Regions from separate parts of the Homo sapiens genome. Here regions 1 and 2 are each linked to region 3. The links are contacts of gene promoters, found by promoter capture Hi-C in human tissues and cell types (Jung and others, 2019). All regions are on one chromosome and are shown on one strand. The core of a region is centred on a gene start or on the middle of the fragment in contact, and the rest is flanking DNA. Distances in the headings are between cores, read along the strand shown.

What was found. Contacts are between HindIII fragments. The study calls those that stand out against the background at their distance.
Region 1: a contact is called between a fragment that was not itself captured here and the fragment with the promoter of BEND4 in region 3, in 2 of the 25 tissues and cell types used here (heart left ventricle and mesendoderm cells).
Region 2: a fragment that was not itself captured here is called in contact with the fragment with the promoter of BEND4 in region 3 in 2 of the 25 tissues and cell types used here (lymphoblastoid cells and mesendoderm cells).

The regions. Positions count from the first base shown.
Region 1 is chr4:42,232,263-42,235,765 of GRCh38, forward strand. No RefSeq gene overlaps it. Among named protein-coding and RNA genes, the nearest start is that of BEND4, 81 kb to the left of the region's middle. The HindIII fragment of the contact is 5,397 bases long and covers 1-3,503 here.
Region 2 is chr4:42,071,419-42,075,021 of GRCh38, forward strand. The region is part of intron 15 of SLC30A9 (solute carrier family 30 member 9); the gene reads left to right. Among named protein-coding and RNA genes, the nearest start is that of BEND4, 79 kb to the right of the region's middle. The HindIII fragment of the contact is 7,764 bases long and covers 1-3,603 here.
Region 3 is chr4:42,151,341-42,154,845 of GRCh38, forward strand. It overlaps BEND4 (BEN domain containing 4), which reads right to left and starts at 1,315. Exons shown (of 6, transcript NM_207406.4): 1 at 1,192-1,315; 2 at 317-1,036. The coding sequence starts at 803. RefSeq lists an enhancer at 1-632 and silencers at 398-487, 688-1,007. The HindIII fragment of the contact is 6,033 bases long and covers 1-3,505 here.

The DNA.
Region 1 (3,503 bases), core at 454-2,953, 81 kb after region 3:
TTCATGTATGTATTTTCATTTTTCCTTACAACAATCTTACGATGTTGGCAGTATTATTGTTTCCTTTCTAGAGATTGGTAGACGGAGACCCAAGGGATTAAGTATGTTGTCCAAATCACATAGCTGAGAAGTTGTGGAAAAGTCCCCTGCCCCTACGCTTATACCTCTCAAATCCTTTTTTCCCACTAGAAAAAATTAGATTAGCTATAAAGAATTGGAATGAAAGGGTGCCGGGAACTTGATTGTGACATGGAGGAATTTTCCTTTCCTTCCCCTTTGCCTTGACTTTCCTCTGCTACAGTAGACTATTCCCTGAACCAGCTTCCAAAAGAAAATGAAGGACTGATGGGGCCACTGAGCCCAGAAGGTCGGGGAGGAAGGGAGAGACTTCTGGCTGTGAGTAGCGAAGGGAGCCGGTACCTTTTGGCTTCATACTCTTTCTAATATGAAGAACATGAAATCTGTTTTGGGTTTAAGAAAAATCTTAAGAAAATTTTCTGCTTTTAAAGAAGGGATAGTGAATTAGGGTGAAAAATATCTTCCTAACCCAATTATGTCAACAATGTTTAGGAAACAATATGGATAATGCACTGGTGGGTAATCAAGAGTGAATATTGCATAAATCACCGGAATGATCATCATTTCTTAAATTTCAAAAAGGAGACAGGAGAGAACATTCCTTTTTTTTTTTGAGACAGTCTCACTCTGTCTCCCAGGATGGAGTGCGGTGGCGCGATCTCGGCTCACTGCAAGCTCCGCCTCCCGGGTTCACGCCATTCTCCTCCCTCAGCCTCCCGAGTAGCTGGGACTATAGGCGCCTGCCACCACGCCCAGCTAATTTTTTGTATTTTTATTAGAGACAGGGTTTCACCGTGTTAGCCAGGATGGTCTCGATCTCCTGACCTCATGATCCGCCCGCCTCAGCCTCCCAAAGTGCTGGGATTACAGGCGTGAGCCACCGCGCCCGGCTATCTTAGTGAACACAGAAATATTGGCTCACAGGATTCTCCCCATTGCATGATGTTTTTGCAGTCAGAAAACACCCTTTGTGTAAAGGAAACTGGGGGTGGGGTAGGAGAGGAATATGCTGACCCAAGACCTTTCTAAATTAATGGATGAAAAGGAGAAAGAAAGCATGAGAGGAAAACCTACTGGGAGAAAGCTTAGGTCTGTGCAGAAAGAAACACAATGGCACCGTTAGACGTATCTGAATGATATCTAATGTTGAGGATGCATTTATCTACAGTCTGACAGTGTCCACAGAGCACAAGGCAAGGGAAGCCAACTCACTTGTCATGACACTCTTGTTCTATGCTCTACCACATTGCCTTTGAAGTCTAAAGAAGATTCCGGCTGGGCACGGTGGCTCACGCCTGTAATCCCAGGACTTTGGTAGGCCCAGGCGGGTGGATCACCTGAGGTCAGGATTTCGAGACCAGCCTGGCCAACATGGTGAAACCCCATCTCTACTAAAAATACAAAAATTAGCTGGATATGGTGGCGCACCCCTGTAATCCCAGCTACTCAGGAGGCGGAGGCAGGAAAATCTCTTGAACCCAGGAGGTGGAGGTTGCAGTGAGCGGAAATCACACTGCTGCACTCCAGCCTGGGCAACAGAGCGAGAGTCTGTCTCCAAAAAGAAAAAAGAAGAAGATTCCTCTGGTCCCAAACTAAGCCAGCACTTAATAGTTGCAGCAGACATTGCTAATGTTTCCAGTTCTCCCCTCCTAAAACATACAGAGGACTGTGATTTCCTGCCCCTCCACTAGTTGGATGGCACGACGTGACTCGTTCTAGCCAACAGGCTGGGAATAAAAATGACGTGTGTCACCTCTGGGGAAAGCATTTAAGAGCTGGTATGTTACCTTCCATCTTATTTTCCCCACCATGGTGAACCAGGAAGGATCATGCAGGGATGGAGACGCCCGAGATTGAAGCCTGGAATGGTGAGCCACCACATGGAGGACGAGTGTCCCCAAGAACAACCTGAGCCTGTTCTGAAGCTGGGGTTGAGGTACTTACAATTCCCGTGTCAGGATCATTTAGAGGCAACCAGAATTTCACCTCTTCCCCATGAAGATGGCTTCCTCTTAGTAGGGAGTCTGATATGAGGCTGAAATGGATTTAGTGTGAACAACAAGTAAACGATTGTGGTGTCAACACCTCGAGATTATTTGATGATGATGCCCAGCCTAATTTAGCATATCTTGACTAATACCAGTATGTGGGTAAATACACGCTTACATTCCCAGAGAAAGTCAAGAGGAATGAACAAAATGTGCTGTTGGTTCTCATTCTAATTCTATTATATCTTCCAATATAGACAAATTACATAGAGAATAGGAGTTCAGGCCTGGCGCAGTGGCTCACACCTGTAATTACAGCACTTTGGGAGGCCGAGGCAGGCGGATCATGTGAGGTCAGGAGTTTGAGACCAGCCTGGCCAACATGGAGAAACCCTGTCTCTACTAAAAGTACAAAAAAAATCAGCCAGGCCTGGTGGTGCACACCTGTAATCCCAGCTACTTGGGAGGCTGAGGCACAAGAATAGCTTGAACCCAGGAGGCGGAGGTTGCAGTGACCCATGATCATGCCACTGTACTCCAGCCTAGGCGACAGAGTGAGACTATGTCTCAAAAAAAAAAAAAAAAAAAAAAGAGAGAGAATAGGAGTTCAAGGGTGACTCCTCTTCTCTGCCTGTCCCCACCAGCTACTCAACTGGGGCACTTGTAACCTTGGCTCTTAGGGACCCCTTGTGGTTGCCTCTTAGGTCACTGCTCACACTCAATCTCATTGGCACTCAATGTTCAAGCTCCCCTTACCCAGAGTATGACAGCATGTCCTTCCCAGCCCTTGCTGTGCGCTGTCAGCCATTCCATTTTGTTCTGAGGATAGGGTGGAAGAACTTACGATTCCTGTGTCAGGATCATGGATAGGACAACCAGAATTATCCCCCTGTGAAGATAGCTTCCTCTTAGCATGGGATCTGAGAGCTTGAGGCTGAAAGAATCTAGTATTCTGGATTGTCTACATTGTGTCTCCGGAAGAGGGGTTCGTGTGTATGAGAGGTAGTAAGAGGAAGGACAGCCCACCTTTCCCACCACACTGAAAGACAAGAAAATAAGACTTATATTTGCATCTCTGGCAGGCCCCTGTGGACACCCAGTAAATGCCGGTAATGATGGCGCGTGACTTCTCATTTACACGGTCTCTTTTAGTTTCTGCCCTAACCTGAATGTGGTGTCAAGGGAACTATTAACGGCTGCTATTCAGGGACATGTGACTTGGTATTTATATATTACCTGCCCACTTCATAAAATGTTAATGAATGTTTGCAAAGCTCTTTGAAATACTCTGGTGAAAGGTGCAACATTAAGTGAAAAATATTATTATTATTATTAGAAGGTAATAGACAGCTTTGAGTGATTGGTCATAAGAATAATTGACATAGCATTAAAAGAAGTGCCAGAAATCATCCAGATGGATTCAGCTTCTCCAGCCCC
Region 2 (3,603 bases), core at 127-2,626, 80 kb before region 3:
AGTAAAATATATTAATGATTACTAGATTTATATTCTATGCCCTATATGTTTAATCTTGAAAAGTAACTATCTTATTGGAACAAGATTAGAAAATGAGAGATGGGCACAGTGGCACATGCCTATAGTTCCAGCTACTTGGGAAGCTGAGGCAGGAGGATCACTTGAGGCCACGAGTTTGAGGCTAGTGTGCAATGATCATGTCTGTGAATAGCCACTCACTGTACTATATTCTGGGCAGCATAGCAAAACCCTGTCTCAAAAAAAAAAAAAAAAAGATTAGAAGTTGAGCATTATGAAAGTCAGTATTAGAGTTATTAACATAATGTGAGATAATCCAAATTAATATCCTTTCTTTGTGATGTTTTTGTCTGGTTTTGGTATTAAGATAATACTGGCTTCAGAGAATGAGTTGGGAAATGTTCTCTCCTATTTTTTTGGAAGAGTTTGTGAATAATTGGTGTTAGCTTCTTTAAATGGTAGAATTCAAGTATCTGGATATGAGCTTTGCTGTGTGGGTAGTTTTTTGATTAGTAATTATATCTCTTGTTATGGATCTGTTCAGATTGTCTGTTTCTTCTTGACTTAGTTTAAGTAGCTTGTATTCTAGGAATTTGTCTTTTACTTCTAATTTACCTAATTTGTTGGTATACAGCTATTTATAATATTCCTTTGTAATCCATTTTATTTCTTTAGTGTTGGTACAAATGTCTCATCTTTCATTTCTGTAATTTGAATCTCTCCTTTTCTTGGTCAGTGTAGCTAAAGGTTTGTTCATTTTCTTGATCTTTCTAAAGAACCAGCTTTTGGTTTAATTGACTTTCTCTGTTGTTTTTCTATTTTCTTTTTCATGACTTTCTCCTTTAATCTTTATTATTTTTTTCCTTCTGCGTGCTTTCAGTTTAGTTTGCTCTTTTTCCACTGTCTTAAGGTTAAGCTTTTAATTTGATGTTTCTTCTTTTTTAAAATAGACAATTACAGCTACAAATTTTCCTTTAAGTATTGCTTTCTCTGCATTCCACACATTTCCATATATTGTGCCATTTTCATTATCTAATAGTATTTTCTAATTTCTTTTTTTATTCTTTTCAGTTATTTAGGGGAGTATGTCACTTAATTTTTACGTATTTGTGAGTTGCACAGATTTCTTTCCATTATTGATTTATTATTTTGTTCTATTGTGGTCAAAGAATATGTTTTATATTAGTTCTGTCCTTTTAAATTTACCAAGGTTTGTTTTATGGCCTTACATATAGTCTTGGATAATATTCATGTGCACTTGAGAAGAATGTATATTCTGCTGTTGTTGTAGAGTGTTCTGTAGATGTTTGTTAGGTTTAATTGGTTTATAGTGACTTCAATTTCCCTAATTATCTTCTTGCTCTATTGTTCTATCCTTTTTTTTTTTTTTTTTTTAGATGGAGTTTTGTTCTTGTTGCCCAGGCTGGAGTGCAGTGGCACGATCTTGGCTCACTGGAACCTCCGCCTCCCAGATTCAAGTGATTCTCCTGCCTTACCCTCCCAAGTAGCTGGGATTACAGGTGCTCACCACCATGACCAGCTAATTTTTGTATTTTTAGTAGAGACGAGGTTTCACCACTGGCCATGTTGGCCAGGCTGGTCTCAAACTCCTGAGAGACGAGGTTTCATCACTGGCCATGTTGGCCAGGCTGGTCTCAAACTCCTGACCTCAGGTGATCCACCCGCCTCGGTCTCCCAAAGTGCTAGGTGTGAGCACCGTGCCCGGCCTCTGTATCCGTTACTGAAAGTATCGAAGTCTCTAGTTATTGTTGTTGTATTAGCTCTTCCTCCCTTCATTTCTTCTTGGTTTTGGCATCATATATTTTGGTGCTCTGTTGTTGCTACATACATGTTTATAATTTTGTATATATTGTTTAATAAGTAATGTCTAAAAAAGAGCTATAAACTGAAAGACTGGCAAATTCGAAATTTTGTGGAAGAGTGAATATCTGTGGATTCAATTATTGGAAAAAATACGTTAGTAATCCAGAAAATTCATACAATTTTTTTAAACAGTATATTAGTTACCTACTGCTGTGTGACAAATTGGCCCAAAACTTAGTGGTTTAAACAACATATTACCATCTTACAGTTTCTGTGAGTCAGGAATCAGGGCACAGCTTATCTGGGTCTTCGACTTCAGGGTTTCTCATAGACTGTAATCAAGGTGTTGACTGGGATTATAGTCATCTCCTGGGGAAGGGGCTGCTTCTAACCTTACTCACATGATTGTTCGCAAGATTTAGCTCCTTGCCAAATGGGCCTCTTCAACATGGCAGCTTGCTTAATCAAAGCGTGCAAATTGATAAGGCAATAGAGAGCGAGTGTGAACAAGACAAAAGTCACAGGTTAGTCACCTGGTCTTGGAAATGACATCTCATCACTTTGCCATATTTGGTAGTTATAGCCCACATTCAGTGAGAGGAGATCACACAAGGGCTTGCGTATAGGTGGCAGGGATTGATCATATGGGAGCCCTCCAAACAGTTTTCTGTCTGTAGTTAGTTATATGTAAGAACATAAGGAAAAAGTATATCTAAATATATTTATTAGTTGCTACTCACATACCAGCCAAATAATGAAATGTGTTTATACTCTGTGAAGACTAAAGTAGAAATGATTTTTGAAAATGAATAAATATGTTCTGTGAGTTACCAGGAGAGAAAAAAAAAAGAATAAATGATATAGCCTTTTGCCAATCTGAAAAAGTTTTGTTTTAACTTGAGCACATGTAACTATAAATATTAAAACATTAATTCTTATTTCATCCTTGATGGTTGATTAAAATATAGCTTCCTTATATGGATAAAAAATTTTGGACTCAGTGTTTAGTAACCTGCTCAGGATCCCTCAGAAATTAGGGTCTAATGTTGTAAGAATACTTGGAGTCTTACGTAGGCTTGTTTTTCTAGTAAATCTCCATGTCCTCAGAATTCAGAGTGTTTTGTTATTTCTTATATGTGCTGTACAGAAAAGATCTTACAGTGATCACTGTAGAAAGAAGAGAATTTCTCAGCAGTTTCTAGGGAAGATTGTTTACTGAGGGTTAGAGCAGGAGGGGTGAAAAGTAGTTATGCTTGAGTATCTGCTTTCCTGTCTGGGAGGCAAAAGGGTATGATGCAAATACCACTGGGCTTGCATTTCTGAAGAGCTGGGCTGGGGAGTCCTAATCTGCTGTTTACTAGCTAAATTACCTTGAGCAAGTCACTTATGCCACTCTAGGATGGTTTTATCATGTATAAAATAAAGATGTCACCCTATCCACTTATGAAAGCCATCCATTAAATGCCTGCCTTATAGTTCTTACTGTATTAAACATTTTATATATGTATTAGCTCATTATTCCTCACATCAAGTCCCATGTGGCAGTTATTATTAACCTCATTCTAATAGAGAACTTCACAGCATTGTATGAAGACTTTTAAAGAAGCTAGTGAACATACAATTGGTTAATATACTCTACAACACCATTATAAATTAAAACAAATTTTTATATGGCATTTAGGAAATTGATAAGTAGATATATGGAGACAAAGGCTTATGAGATAACATGACATTTTAGAAAATTGATTTAGAGTTAATGAA
Region 3 (3,505 bases), core at 65-2,564:
CCCCGGGGGGGCGTCTGGCCCCACTCCGGACCACGCCCGAGCGATCCTGGTCGCCGACTGCCACAGCCGTGCTTCCCGGCGCGGGATCCAAGCCGCGGAGCCACCTGTTAGGCGCGCGCCGTCGGAAGCCCAGGCGCGGCGGCGCTGGAGAATCCTCTCGAAGTTTCCGGGTGCGCGGGGAGGCCCCAGGTGCGCCCCGACATCCCGACACGGCCCAGCACGGGTAAGTGTCGGCGGCCCCCCGCTTCTCCTTCCTGGGTCCCCTCCCGCTGCCCCCGGCCGTGGCGGGAAGGAAAGTTGTGCGGAGAGTTGGTACCTGCGCTGAGCTCCAGGCTGGCGCTGTCGCTACCCGTGCCGCCGGTGCCGGCGGCCGCCGCCGCGCCTGGGCCATACCTGACGACAGCGGCGAACGAAGACGACGAGGAGGCGGCGGGGGACGCGGGCGGCGGCTGCGCCGGAGTCCTCAAGTGGCCCTGGGATGTGGCGGGCGTGCAGGACGGCGACGACGACGAAGCGGCGGCGGCGGCCCGGCCGGGCCCGGGGGGGTAGGAGCTCTGCGCCTGGAACTGCTGCGGCGGCGGCTCGCTGCTGCTGATGGAGACGGCGGCGTGCGGCGCGAAGGGCGGCGGGGGCGGCGGGGGCGCCCGCACGTGCGGCAGCTCCACCAGGGTGGGTCGCTCGTAGCGCTTGGCCAGCGCCGGTCTCTTGCTGGGGAACGTCTTGAGGACGCTGTAGGGGCTGCGCTGCTTGTAGATTTTGGGGACGCTGGGCCCCTCCTCTGCCGGCTGCATCTCTTCCTCCATCCGGCGCCTCGGGGCCGGTCCCTCGGAGCACGTCCCCTCCCCGCCGGGCGCCGGGCTCCGAGGGTGCCTCCGCCGCCTGCCCGCCGGGTCTGCCCTGGTGCGCGCGTGTGGGAGGGTGTGTGTCTGTGCCGTGGCCGCCGCCGCCGCCGCCTGTCGCTGAGGCTGGCATCGCCGAGCCCCCGCGCGGGGGGCTGCCGCCCGAGCTCCTGATTGACAGGCTGCCTCGCCAATGCCTGGAGGGAGAAAGGAGGTAAAGAGCAAGTGTTTAGGGTAATATCTGCTAATGATAATGGGGGCGGGGCGGGGCCTGGCGCCGCAGCCGCCCGCGGGGTCTGCCTGGCGGCTCCGCGCCTCCGACGGGGAGCGGGGGAAGGGGGAAAGCGAGGACCTGGAGGACGCCCGGGAACTGGTGAAGAAGGTGGGGATCCGGGATCTGGCTACGGCGAGACTTTAGAGACCCAGATGTGGACTCGAGGCTTCTGCGGCTGCGGGCGGGGTCCGGCTTCCGAAACGAGCTCGTGGCGCCCCCTGCATGACCCCAAACTCTCGGGGTTGCACAGAGGAGGGGCTAGTCGTTGGGGCGGGGTCGTCAGAGTACGTGTGTATTACAGCAAGTTCTTCTACCAATCGGGAATTGCTCTCCGATCCTTCTGAAAAGAACCTCTTGAAGATCTTGGCCCGGGTGGTCGCGCGGTGTTTACGGGGCTTTGGGGTCCTGCTTTCCCCGAGCATCGCGGCCTCTGAGCTCATGCGGAACATAAAAGCTCGCAAGGCGTAGAACTTTTTCACGTTTTCATTTGTTTCCCGTAGGGGCCCCGAGAACGTGCATGACACCATGATTTCCCCCCCATTATAAAGATGAGAAAACCGAGGCTCTGAGAGGTTGAAGGGAATTGCCCAAAGTCAGACACTCGGGAGTGTGCGGCTGTGTTGCACTGACGCATCCAGGTTATTTGAAGTCAACTCCTCACTTCCCATAGCCAGTAGCCTCTGTGCAATTGAGTGGGGAAATGTCCTGATACCTCCCTTTGAGGTGATGATTACTTTCAACAGTGTCATTTTTAATATATGTATATGTACTTGCAAGCCCAGGGAAACACGAGAACTCACTCCTTGCATTGTTTTACTCACTGCAACTGGCGCCATCCGGCGAGGGTCTGGAGGGTGCCCAATTTCAGTAGCCGTTTGAATGAGAGATCTCAGTCGTTGGGAGGAAGATCCTCCATGGGATGCAGATGTCCTGGTCTCTCCCAGCCACTTTTTGGGGCAGAGGGTCCATTGCTCCCTATCCCAAATCACCCCTCTTCTAGGCCAACCAGCATACCCTGCCCCAGGTTTGCTTTTCAGCCTTCCTTTTTCGTTCTCCAGGTCAGAGTTCTGGATGCTCCTTGATGTAGGACCCTCATCTCTGCACTCTGAAGTTTGTTTCCTTTTCAGAGCCTTCCTTTTATTCTTAGGAAGGTGACCCATTTTCTTCTGGGGGTTCACATCTTTTGGCCTCTCTTTCCCTGGTCTCCTTCCCTTTGGAAGCTTTTTCTCTCTGCCTTGCTGGTTCAGCTTCTGTATTATTCCCCCCTAGATTGTCTCCCTCTCTCCTGCAGCTTCCTCAGATGGTGCTGTGTCCCCCCCCCAATCCATTTATTAGAGATGAAATAAATAATGCCATAAATATAAGTATTTGGGAGTCCAGGAACTGTCAGGGCTGATTAGGGCATAGAGGACATTTTCTTTCTCATTATGCAAAAGCATTTCATGGGGAAATAAAAGAGGTTTCATTGTAACTCATGCATGTCATATTTCAAGGAATTCAAGATATTAATCATATTTAACATTATTTGCAATGTTTCTCCCTGGCTTCTGAAAACTGCTAAATGAGGACACGTGGATCACTAGGAAAAGGAGACAAGCATGAGAGGGACAGTTAAGAAATAATGAAATGCTGGTGAAAGAGAAAGAGAATGAGATGCCAGGGAGATGTTTCTTAGGCACGTAAGTGAGAAATGGGGGAGCTACTTCTGAGACGTGAGACAGCTGAAATTGAATGATATACTGGAGGAAATAAATGATAACAAACCTCCCCACACTTTCCTTTCTATAAAGCAGTTCTGAATTTTGCATTGAAATGTTTTCCTCCCACTTTACTCCCAGATAATTTGCCAATAAGTCCTGGCTTTTGAAAAGAAATTGGGGTGGTGGCAGTGTGGGGAGTTAAGAGGAGAGAAATCTTTTAGTTCTTCTGAAGAAGTAATTTCCTGTACCTGGGGGCTTCCTCTTCTATGTAGTTTTAAATGTATATCCTCCTCACCACTTAAACACCTTAAGAGACTGGGAACAATACTTCTATTGTATATTTTCTATTGAAAAGGACATGCTGTCCTTTACATCAAAAAGTGATTATTTCTATAAAACTGAAATAATCAAATTAGTCATTTAGCTTTTAAAAGTGGGGGGAAGGGGGAGGGGAAGGTGCCCAGAGGAAAAATATTTAAAAGTTTTAAATGATCAGCTTTCAGATTTTCATGTGGGCAGTCACCTATGTCTGCGTCCTGAGTTCATAGAAAAGTGAAGTACTTAAGAATCACCCTTTTAAAAATAAAATGAGCATTTACTCTAAGTGTGGAGTTGAAGGCAATTTTAAAATTATAGCTGACCACTAACCCCTGCCTGAGATTGTATTTAACTGAGTATTGTACATAGATGTA